Regions from separate parts of the Homo sapiens genome. Here region 2 is linked to region 1. The links are contacts of gene promoters, found by promoter capture Hi-C in blood cells and fetal thymus (Javierre and others, 2016). All regions are on one chromosome and are shown on one strand. The core of a region is centred on a gene start or on the middle of the fragment in contact, and the rest is flanking DNA. Distances in the headings are between cores, read along the strand shown. Region 1 holds the start of MBP (myelin basic protein). Region 2 overlaps ZNF236-DT (ZNF236 divergent transcript).

Region 1 (4,256 bases), core at 1,488-3,987:
GGATGACTATTACCTCCACACTGCAGATGAAGAGACTGAGGCTCAGAGAGGTTTAGACCAGGTCTGAAAATCATATTCAGTCCTGGCCGGGCGTGGTGGCTCAGGCCTGTAATCCCAGGACTTTGGGAGACCCAGGCAGGTGGATCACCTGAGGTCAGCGGTTCGAGAACAGCCTGGCCAACGTGGTGAAACCCCATCTCTACTAAAAATACAAAAATTAGCTGGGCATGGTAGCGGTTGCCTATAATCCCAGCTACTCGGGAGGCTGAGGCAGGAGAATTGCCTGAACCTGGGAGGCGGAGGTTGCAGTGAGCTGAGATTGCACCATTGCACTCCAGCCTGGGCCACAGAGCAAGACTCCATCTAAAAAAAAAAAAGAAAGAAAAAAAAAAGTTCAGTCCTTTCCTAAGCAAAACATCATAACAAAGACAAATCTGTTGATGAGGAAACTAAAGAAAACTCAAAGTTCGTGCAGTCTGAGGTCTGTTGGAAACTATTTAGATTCATTTACTTCCTTTAGCTTGGGTAATTTGGAGTTTAATTCAGCTTAACAAAAATTTATTGAGTGTATTTCATGCACAAAACATTTTGCTATTTGCTGCCATATGAGATGATGGATAGGTCAAACTTTCTGCTCTCCGGTACCTTGTGAAAGATGGGGGTAACTGCAATGTGATTTTCTTAGAAATGTCAAAGACACAATGAGGCTTTGATGGGTTACTTGTCAAAAGATGCCTTTCAATTTTATTCAGCACAACGAATCTCTGTCACTTTGCTGAGGGCTACATGGACATCTTCATGTGAAAGTTTGTCTCTCGACAGTGAAATGCCAGCCTCTGTTTCTTCCATCCACTGTCCTCAACCTGGGGTCCTTTTTCTAACCGGGAGGGCATGAAAGCCCCCAAGATAAGACCAGTTGATCCAAATGTGAATCCACTGTTTTATTAAATAGTATTATCTACATGTTTTCTTTGAAGAATCCATGACTTTTCTAAACTGCCTGGCTGCCCATCTGTGTGGACACTCTATCCCAACAAAATATGCACGGTGAAATTTCATAAATACTTTAAAAAGACTTTTAACTGGAACTTGTGGAGCCTGACATTTGTAGGGCTGACTGTTGGCATATGTAGTGTTTCAGGAAACCACTGTAACACCAGCAGAAGGAGCACCAAACAGAAGGCCGCGTGTGCAGCTGTCACTGTGGCCTGAGGGACGCTCCAGAGCCCAGCACACAGGGACATCTGCAGGCAGGAAGGTGGCCCCGCCCTGTGGAGTCACTGAGATAAAGCCAAGAGATATTTTGGGGAGGAAAAGCTGTTTCTGATGCTAAAGCAGGTATCTAAAATGGGACCCATTTTAGTGTTCCAGCTTCCCCAGCCTGAGCTTTGAGTGACTTGAGCTGGGACCTGGGTGCACCCGGGTTCATTGTCACCACCCGTGCTCCTAGGGCAGCTGTCCAGCCTCCCACGCCCACTCCGCTCATCCTTGACTTAAAGTGAGGTTGTGGGGCAGAAAAATTGGAGAAACACACTATCTTTGGCACCCTTTTCCCTCCTCACCTTCAGCCTCAAAGTCTCAGAACCCTCCTGCCCCCTCCACTTGAAAATCTCTCCTGAGGAAACGACCAGACTGAATGCTTTTGCGTCGTTGTGGAAGTATTTCTCTTCCAGTTGCCAGCATTTGAAGACAGTTGCTAAATCCTCCGGGGCTTTGGGGGAGGCTGGTTTTAGGCCGAAACCCCGACCCCGTGCTGAAGTCTGAGTCCCGCCTCCCAGCGCGGGCCGGGACAGCGCTCACCCCTCTCCCTCACTTCCTAACAAACTGTGTGGGTCCCAGGCTGCTCCAGGTCCCCTGGAAGCTCCAGATCCAGATCCCTGACTGGGGGTGTAGGTCAGGAGGAACGCGGGGCCTCATTCTGGGACTCCCCCAACCTCCTCCTCTTCCACCATCAGGAGGCTGAGAATCCAGAGAAAGATCTCTGACCACTAAATCTGTGTGCAGGTGAGTCACGGCTAAACAGCAGGCTTTTTCTTTTTAACAAGACAGCGACGAAGACCACGATGTCTCTGGGCTGCAGGACCAGGCTGCTTCCTCGCACCTGCGCGTGTTTTGCTGTCTTTTCCGCGCACGCTTCCTGCGCCGGTCCTGCAGGAGAAGGTGCGCCCCTAGCTCCCAGCTCCCAGCTCCCAGCTCCCAGAGGAGCACCTGCCAGCCGGACATGGGCCTGGCCTGGGCTCCAGGGGAGGGAGGGAGTGCCTTGGGAGGACCTGCCGGCTCCTTTCGCCTCCAGGCCGGGCTGACTCTCCTCCTGCAGGGCCGGGGCTGCGCCAAGTCTATCGGCAGTTTCTGGGGTTTCCAGCCCCTGAGGACGCGGGGAGATGCGGCCTGGCACCCCTCCCGCGAGGTCGAGGTCGGGGTCGGGGTGGGTTCGGAGGCCAAGCCTCCGAACGGGAAGGGTCGACGGGCCGCAGTTCGGAGCCCAGTTCGGCAGCGGGCGAGGCTCCAGGCCGCCCCTCCGAGGTCTGACCCTGCGCGTGGGCCCCGTGCGCCCCCCAAGTTCCGCGTGGGCAGAGCGGGCCCGGGGTCCTCCGAGCTCCCGGGGCGGCGCCGGCGGCCGCGTCCAGGTGGGGCGGGCCCGGCGGGATCGGCCTGTGTTTACCTGGCTCGCAGGAAGCCCGGGGAGGCGGGGCCGGGGAGCTGGGTGCGCGCCCGTCCCTCGGAGCCGCCGCCGTCAGTCACCGCCGCCGCGCGCCAGAGAGAAGCAGCCTCCGGCCCCGGCGGCCCCTGTCTCCCGACCCCGGAAGGCGAAGCAGGCTGCCCGGGGACCCCGCGCGTGGGCGCTTGAAGCCGAGACCAGCCTGCCCGGGCCTGGGCAGGCGGAGCAGGGCCTTGGACCCCGCGGCGCCCCTCGGCCTCGGAGCAACGAGCGCAGCGCCGGTGGGTGACCCTCGGGGACGGGCGGGCTGCTCTGCCGCCTTTGTCTCTGTGCCCCTCCGAGTGGGGACCGCGGAGACCTGGGCGGGACCCCGGACCGGAGCCCCGCGGGAGCCGGGGGCGCAAGATCGGGGACAGGAGCTATCCCGACGCCCGGACTCCGGGTCCCTTTCTTGGCTGGGGACGCGCAGGGAGAACCTAGGCAGCGGAGCAGGTGGCCGAGCAGGTAGCAGCCGGCGGCCTCCCTGACCCGAACCCAAGTCGCCGCCCCCGATCCCCATTGCGCGGGGGCTGGGCGCGGGTGTAGACGCGGGTTTACAGCGCCGGGGCCCGACCCTGACAGGTGTCCAGGGGTGGACTCCAGCCAGGCCCGGCGGTCCCAGGGTCGCTGAAACCGCTCGGCCTCGGGCCGTGGGGCTGAGGGGAGGAGTCTAGGGTGGGAGGGGACGGCGGTCAAAAGCGGCCACTCTGGGCGGGTGTGGAGAGGGTGCTGGCTGCCAGGGCGGGCTGGGGGGTCCTCCCGGCTCGCGGCGCCTGCTAATCACACCCCGGGGGCCCCGCGCGCGATCGCGCTCCTGCCCCTGCCCCCGGGGCGAAGCGCAGTCTCCCTCTGAGCTCCAGGGGCGGCCAGGAGAGCCCGGGTCCGGGCTTCCGCCTTCGCAGGGCCTGTCTCGGGCTCTTCGGCCGGGCCCGTCGCTGCGCCCACCTGGGCCCACGTGCGCCGCCCGCAGCCGCCCGCCGGCCCGCCCGGGTCTTCCCGGCAGTCCCCTCCTGGGCCCCACTGCCTGTCCTGGGCCGGGTGCGTCCGTTTTCCGTGGCCCCCGAGGCCGGGGTGTGTGACCTGCGGTCATTTGCCGCCACACTAGATTTTCCGGGGTGCTGGGGGCAGCGCCTTGTGTCCTTTCGCGTCCACCTGAGCCCCCCCGTTTTGGAAGGTGGAGTGGGGCTTGGGAAAAGGTTCAAGCGTCTTTGGGGACCCCCGTGCGACTCTGGCTGGAAACAGGCGAGCTCTGGTTCCTTGTTCCGTTTTCCAATTGCAACAACGTGAGAATCAACAAGTGCTCGGTTTCTCTGCGCGTGGGTGAGGGGCGCGTGGGCTCGCTGGGTGCTGGGGTGGGGAGGGGGCGTGGACTTCGTTCCGGGGAGGCCTCTGCCTCGTCTGACCACAGAACGCCCCGCCTGGAAAGAGAGTTTTTCAGAGGAAGGAAACGTCAGGGAACTCCAGTGTGTGTTTTGGACATTTTATCTGGCGAAGCTCCGGGGGACAGTTTAAGGACGGTCACCCTCAAGTCAGGGGACCGTATGGATTGAGCAGGTCC
Region 2 (7,400 bases), core at 3,108-5,607, 330 kb after region 1:
AGTCTCTACCAAAAATACAAAAATTAGCCGGGCTTGGCACAGGCTTGCAATCCCAGCTGAGGCAGGAGAATCGCTTGAACCTGGGAGGTGGAGGTTGCAATGAGCCAAGATCATGCTTTTGCACTCCAGCCTGGACGACAGAGTGAGACTCTGTCTCAAAACAAAATAAATAAAATAGACACGCAATCCATACCACAGCCACCAGGGTGATTGTCCAGGTTGTATTTCTGCTGACATCGACCCTTCATGCCTTCCTCTTGTTGACCCTTCCAGCTACACCTAGCTCGGTCCTCTTCGGAGCCACGCCAACACCCAGGTTCCTCTGCAGTGCATCCCCATGGGGATTTACCCGGTGATTGATTTTATTTCTTTATTTATTTTTATTATTATTATTATTTTTGAGACAGAGTTTCACTCTTGTTTCCCAGGCTGGAGTGCAGTGGCGCAATCCCAGCTCACTGCAACCTCTGCCTCCCGGGTTCAAGCGATTATCCAGTCTCAGCCTCCCGAGTAGCTGGGATTACAGATGTGTGCCACCACGCCCAGCTAATTTTTGCATTTTAGTAGAGACGGGGTTTCGCCATGTTGGCCAGGCTGGTCTCGAACTCCTGACCTCAGGTGATCTGCCCGCCTCGACCTCCCAAAGTGCTGGGATGACAGGCGTGAGCCACTGATCCGGCAGTTCTTAATCAGACAAAACTCAGCCCCAACTCCAGTAGCTGATGCAGGGGTGGAATTTCATTCTGCTTCTTCCTTACTGTTATTTTATGCAAGGGGGTGGAGCGTGTGCGTGTTGGGGACGGAAAAGTGGGAAAGGCAAATGGTCCGCTGGACCACAGTGGTCATTGTATGGGTCAGAAATCAGGTTACTCTTAGAGAAAGAAACTATTGAGAATCAACCCAAAGGGAATTAAATGAACACCTGTAAAGGAATGTGGGGACTTACTAAGCACGGGGCTGAGAAGATGCCATCAGGCAAGGGTGATTCCGATAGTCGGAGGAAGCTACTCCCTGATATAGCGAGGACTGAGGCTCACATGTCACAACCGGTCATCGTAAAGACCAGCGGTGCTGCTATACCTCCCACAGTACATAGAATAACCCCGTAAAGAATGACCTGGCTGGGGCCTGAGAGCATTGCTTTACCTGGAGGTGCAGCCAGTCAGCCAGGGGAACGAAGCAGTATTTGTGGGCTGAGCAGAGAGGGCCCTGGGCAGATCCTGGGTGTGTGCACATGAGGGCCCCGGGCAGGGCAGGGCAGAGGAGGTTGGGACACTGAGTCAGAGGTATGCTCCTGAAGGCAACCCACAAGGGGGCCAGTTCGTGGAACTGCAGGCCTGATCCTGAGCAGCATGGTGCGGAGCTGTCTGGACAGGCCTGCAGAGAAGGGCGCCTACCTTACTGAGGTCAACCACACACATCCAGTAGCCACAAGGCTGCTGTCGCAAGGCGGTGCCTGGCCTATCTTGTGATGATGTTTGTTTTTACACATAATGTTATGCTTTGCTTATGGACAAGCAATGGAGGCTGGCGAGGCTGCCCTGGGCCTGTTACACACCCAGAGGGCCCTGTGCCCACCTCAGGCCTCATTCTCTCCTGAGGAGAGAGCCCAGTGTCCGGAAGACATCCCTCCCCTCCTGTTTGTTCTCTCCTGCCCTCTCTCTGCTTCTGCTTTTAAGAAACACCTGTTGGCCAGGCGCGGCGGCTCATGTCTGTAATCCCAGTACTTTGGGAGGCTGAGGCGGGCAGATCAGGAGGTCAGGAGTTCAAGACAAGCCTGGCCAACATGGTGAAACCCCTGTCTCTACGAAAAATACAAAAATTAGCTGGGCATGGTGGCGCGTGCCTGTAGTCCCAGCTCCTCGGGAGGATGAGGTGGGAGAATCGCTTGAACCTGGGAGGCTGAGGTTGCAGTGAGCCGAGATGACACCACTGGACTCCAGCCTGGGCTATAGAACAAGACTCCCTTTAAAAAGAAAAAAAAATTCATGATCTGGAAGCCCGAGTGTAGCTAACTGGTGGACAGATGAAAGTGAAATGTGTGATGTTTCCTAAGACCCCCTAAGACTTCCCTGAGCCACGGGAGGCTCTCACGAGTGTGTAAGCCAGGGTTTTGGGGAAGGGGTGGATGTGTGTGTCTCGCATTTTCCCAGCTGCCTCTCCTTTCCCCTTCTTCCTTGCTCCCGGAGACTTCCTTGTGGATTCCTTCCCAGAACTTGGTCTGAATTCCCTAATAGACATTCTCCTAGCGGGATGAGTCCCCCTTTACAGCACTCGGGAAATGCCTGCTCCTCTAGCTGTCTCTGATCCACCTCTCCTGTCTTTCAACTAAGGCCCCCACATGCCAGACCATCGTTGGTGGACCTCGTCACCAGCATGAAGTGGGCTCTTGGAGTTGTCGACTGACTAGTTCACAATTAGTGACTCATAGCATCTCACTCATTTCCTTTTCATCAGTAGGAGGCAGCAGTCTGCACTTTTGCATCACATTTCAAAGACATCTGTGTGTTTGTTCTCGTGCAGAACACTTTGACTATTGTAACCTCTAGGTCCATGAATGACCCTCATCTTCAGTAAAAGTGGATTCACGCTGGCAAAGTCTGCTTTGTTTTATTGTGACACATGGAACATTATGGATTTTGGTGAATAAAAACTAACTTAAATTGAAGTCATTCTTGTAAAATGAAAATACATTTTTCTGCTGTTCTTAACTTTATAATATAGATACATACTATGTCTTATGAAATAGTAAATGGAAAACACGATTCAAAAAGCGCTATTTTGGTAAATAACTTGCATAAAGGGCATATGGACAACACAAGTCCACAACACAATAGACAACAGACAACACAACCTGTTACACAGGCACTCAAGTTCGTCTGCAGATTTGGTTTTCTTTTTTTTTTTTTTTTCACTCCTGATGCCCAGGCTAGAGTGCAATGGCGCGATCTTGGCTCATTGCAACCTCTGCCTCCAGGGTTCAAGCGATTCTCCTGCTTCAGCCTCCCGAGTAACTGGGATTACAGGCATGCACCACCACGCTGGGCTAATTTTGTATTTTTAATAGAAATGGGATTTCTCTGTGTTGGTCAGGCTGGTCTTGAACTCCCAACCTCAGGTGATCCGCCCGCCTTGGCCTCCCAAAGTGCTGGGATTATAGGCGTCAGCCACCAGGCACAGCCTACAGATTTGGTTTTCAATATCACTTGACATGCACAAAGTACGGGTGAACAAGCACTTTTATTCTTTTTTCTTTTTTTCTTTTTTTTTTTTTTCTTTTTGAGATGGAGTCTCGCTCTGTTGCCCAGGCTAGAGTGCAGTGGCGCAATCTTGGCTCACTGCAACCTCTGCCTCCCAGGCTCAAGAGATTCTCCCACCTCAGCCTCCCGAGCAGCTGGGATTAGGACCACCACGCCTGGCTAACTTTTGTATTTTTAGTAGAGACAGGGTTTCACCATGTTGGCCAGGCTGGTCTCAAACTCCTGACCTCAGGTGATCCTCCCGCCTCGGCCTCCCCTCAGCTGGGATTACAGGCGTGAGCCACCGTGCCTGGCCACAAGCACCTTTTTTCTTTATCTCCTATGTTTGAAATTAAAATGAAAAAAATGTATAAACCTTATTTAATTAACAAGTGATGAGTCATTTTTAGTAAATGGACCTAAATACCTTAAGAAAGCCATCAAGTGTCAAATAGAGAGATGTAAGCTACCATGGAGAGCCTTTCGGGACGTATGGAAGGAACCAGTTTGCAATGACAACATGCTGTGGGTGGTGCCTACCTACACTGAAAGATTCGGATGGGTTTTTCAGAGTGCCCTCTTCACTGTCTTCCTTCACCCAGCCCGCCTCCTCTTCCAGGACTCCGACCCACTTTCCTCCTGCGCCCTCTAGTGTCTGTCTGCTTTTCCGTTCCCCCCATTTCTACCTTAGGATTTTTCTGTGCCTTTCATTCATCCTCCGTCTGCGTCTCCCGTGGTACTGACTTCAAAACCCCTGACTGTACCGAAACTCGGTGTGAACGAGGACTGCAGTGCTGCTGGGGATGCATTCTCCATTTGTACTTGAAGAGTTACGTCAAAACCTAAACTGTAGGCCTGACAGATAATGATAATTTGTCTATGGCAAAAACATAAGCTTAACTGCCTATCCTAATATAACAGGAAGCTAAACTATTTATACTGAACTGAATTCTCCTACATTTACAACTCATAAACCTGCAGCTTCCTGGACAGGCAGCAGACACTCCCAAACTCCGCTGTGTCCTAGTATATAATACTTTCGGCCAACCTACATGTGTAACTTACATCATTTTCAGAATATGAATGCTTCAAGTGGCATATTAGACATTAATAATTTAAGCAATGAAATTAACTGATACAGAATATATAGGTAAATAATAAAAGAAGTAATTAAAAATCTTTGTTTCATCAGTTCATATTAGCTATATATGTTCTCAAGTCTCAAAGAAAAGGTATTATTTCAAAGCAACTTAAAAAATATTTAAAAATTAGCACCCTATAGTTCTCATTTAATAAGTTAAATGGGTAATTAATTGGCATTTTATTTCAATAGAAGCTTATTTCAAAAAGCTTTCTACAGAGTTATTTTGTGTAAAATGGTAATTATGCCCACAATTTTCTAAATGAAGCTTGCAGAAAGGGCTCATTTTTGCCATAAACATAATTTTCATTGATGTTTCCCTTAAAGACAAATGTTTCCTTCACTGAAATAGACTTTTGGAAATTGTTTAATTATTTTTACCTTGGCAATTATGTCACCTTCCTTGAATATCCTCATTAATTACATTGCCACTGGTACCTCTGAAGTATTTGGTGTTTTCTTAAGTTCTTTAAGCTCTTTATTTTATTTTATTTTATTTATTTATTTTTTGAGACAGTCTCGCTCTGTCGCTCAGGCTGGAATGCAGCGGCCTGATCCCGGCTCCCTGCAACCTCTGCCTCCCGGGTTCATGTAATTCTCCTGCCTCAGCCTCCGGAGTAGCTGGGATTACAGGCTCGCACCACCAAGCCCGGCTAATTTTGGTATTTTTAGTAGAGACAGGTTTTGCCATGTTGCCCGGGCTGGTCTCAAACTCCTGACTGCAAGTGACCCGCCTGCCTGGGCCTAAGTTCTTTAAGATCTTAATGTAGAGTCTGAAAAGAGGGTTTCAGTCTGGGATTAAGTGCCTTTTTTTTTTTTTTTTTTTTTTTTTGCGACGGAGTCTCCTGCCTCAGCCTCCCTAGTAGCTGGGACTACAGGCGCGCACCACCATGCCCAGCTAAGTTTTTGTATTTTTAGTAGGGATAGGATTTCGCCATGTTGGCCAGGATGTTCTCAAACTCCCAACCTCAGGTGATCCGCCCACCTCGGCCTCCTGAAGTGCTGGGATAACACGTGTGAGCCACCGCTCCCGGCCAAGTGCCAATTACTTAATATTCCTAACTTTTTAACATATCCTAAAATACAACTCCACACCCAAGTTCAGGCGCTCGCGGATGGTCTTTTGTTGGCCGCACTCCTCCCTCCGGCTCTGCTCCAGCCCAGCCCCAGCCTCCTACCCTGGGGGCACCGCTGTCCCGCGGCCGAAGAAGCTGCGCCGCACCGGCCTCTGCCGCCACCTGGCGCCCGGCCGGGGCACGACGCACTGGACACCTTCCTAATAATATGAGCCGCACGCTCCCGTGGGGCACCCCTGACCCTCGCGGCCGCGCGTCTCAGCGCCCCTTCCGTGGGCTGCGGGTCTCACCCCCCAATCCCACTCCCACGTGGGCCCAGGTTCCTTCCGGGTTGAAAGCAGGGAACCTGCAGAGCTCACTCATCCTAAAAACGACCTTAATCCTGCTAGCCTCCAGGAGCCCCGCACCCTGCTCGCCCTGGCCCCGGGGAGGGCACCCCATCCCGCCACCCCACACCCCAGAGCCGACTCAGGGCTAAATCCTCCCCTTAGCTCCGTCAGGGCCCTGAATGACCCCCCCGCACACCCGTGCGCACTTCCCCTGGGCTGGCCTGACCCCCATACCTGCAGCCCCTTCTTTGCCCAGTCCCTCAGCTGCTCTCAAAGCCAGTGTCCTCAAGACTGCGCCTGTCACGGTCGTGCGTGGTCCCCACGCAGTCGGCGCCTAGACCTATCCTACTGGATCGCCCAGAGGCCTCAACGGAAGGCTGTGCTTTCTTTTTTCTTCTTTGGGGGGCGAGGGAGGCAGGGAGAGGGGTCTCGCTCTGTCGCTCAGGCTGGAGTGCTGTGGCGCGATCTCGGCTCACTGCAACCTCTGCCTCCCGGGTTCAAGCAGTTTCCTGCCTCAGCCTCCCAAGTAGCTGGGACTACAGGGCCCCGCCATCACACCCAGCTAATGTTTTTAGAGATGGGGTTTCGTCATGTTGGCTAGGCAGGTCTTGAACTCCTGACCTCAAGTTATCCTCCCGCCTCAGCCTCCCAAAGTGCTGAGATTACAGGCATGAGCCACTGCTCCGGCACTTAAAATCCACTTTTCATTACACATCACAATAGAATTGAGAAATGGTTTGTTCTTGTTATGTAGAATAAGAGATGACACTTCAAAATGATGATTTTTAAAAATTTTCGCTCAGCTCATGGGGCACCCACTTATTGAGCTTTTTATCTTTCCAATTTGCTTCAAATGCCAAACGACCATTGAATGGCCAACGTTGAGTTCTTTGGCAACTTCTCCTGTAGCGTAAGAGGATCAGCTTTGATGACTGCCCTCAATTGATCACTGTCAACTTCTGAAGGCCGGCATCTATTGGCAAAACTTCTCGAACCACCACTGCACTGTGTGTGCCCTAGCAGTTTCTGGGCCAAATGAATTGTTGATGTTGCCAGTTGTCTCTTCTGCATTTTGACCTCAAATAAGAAAATTGCTCAAATTTGCTTTTTGTCTAACATCATTTCCATAGTCTAAAATAAACGTAAAATAAACAGCAAGTAATGTCATTAGCAAAAAAAATAAAGCGAGAAATGCCCGTTAAAATGATGTATGACATATTTATTTAAGAACATATTCCAATATCAAACAGCAAATTCCAACAATGCAAAAACCACAATTACTTTTGCATTCACCTAAAATTGGAACGATACAGAGAAGACTAGCATGGCCCCTTAAAAAAAAATACATAAACTGCAGAAGGGATTATTTTATGTAGTCTAATTTGTTTTGTTTGTTTGTTTAGACCTAAGTATTGGCCAGTTTTTCATCCTTACATTTTTGTGTGTCTGACCTTCATCTGGCATCATCTTCCTTCTGCCTGATATACAGGTATATTTTTTACAAGTTTTCTTAGTGAGGATGTCTAGTGGCAAACACTCATTTTTTTTAACTGAAAATGTCTTTATCTTACCCTAATTCTTTTTTTTTTTTTTTTTTTTTTGAGACTAGATCTCA

The links. The method cuts DNA at HindIII sites, captures the fragments that hold promoters and counts their contacts. A CHiCAGO score of 5 or more calls a contact.
Region 2: a fragment that was not itself captured here is called in contact with the fragment with the promoter of MBP in region 1 in 3 of 17 cell types (monocytes, erythroblasts and total CD4 T cells); the score reaches 6.2 in monocytes.

The regions. Positions count from the first base shown.
Region 1 is chr18:77,131,264-77,135,519 of GRCh38, reverse strand. MBP (myelin basic protein) reads left to right here and starts at 2,737. Exons shown (of 9, transcript NM_001025101.2): 1 at 2,737-2,940. RefSeq lists a silencer at 2,473-3,772. The HindIII fragment of the contact is 15,459 bases long and covers 1-4,256 here.
Region 2 is chr18:76,800,423-76,807,822 of GRCh38, reverse strand. The region is part of intron 2 of ZNF236-DT (ZNF236 divergent transcript); the gene reads left to right. It also overlaps the pseudogene RNU6-346P. Among named protein-coding and RNA genes, the nearest start is that of ZNF236-DT, 18 kb to the left of the region's middle. RefSeq lists a silencer at 5,498-5,547. The HindIII fragment of the contact is 441 bases long and covers 4,137-4,577 here.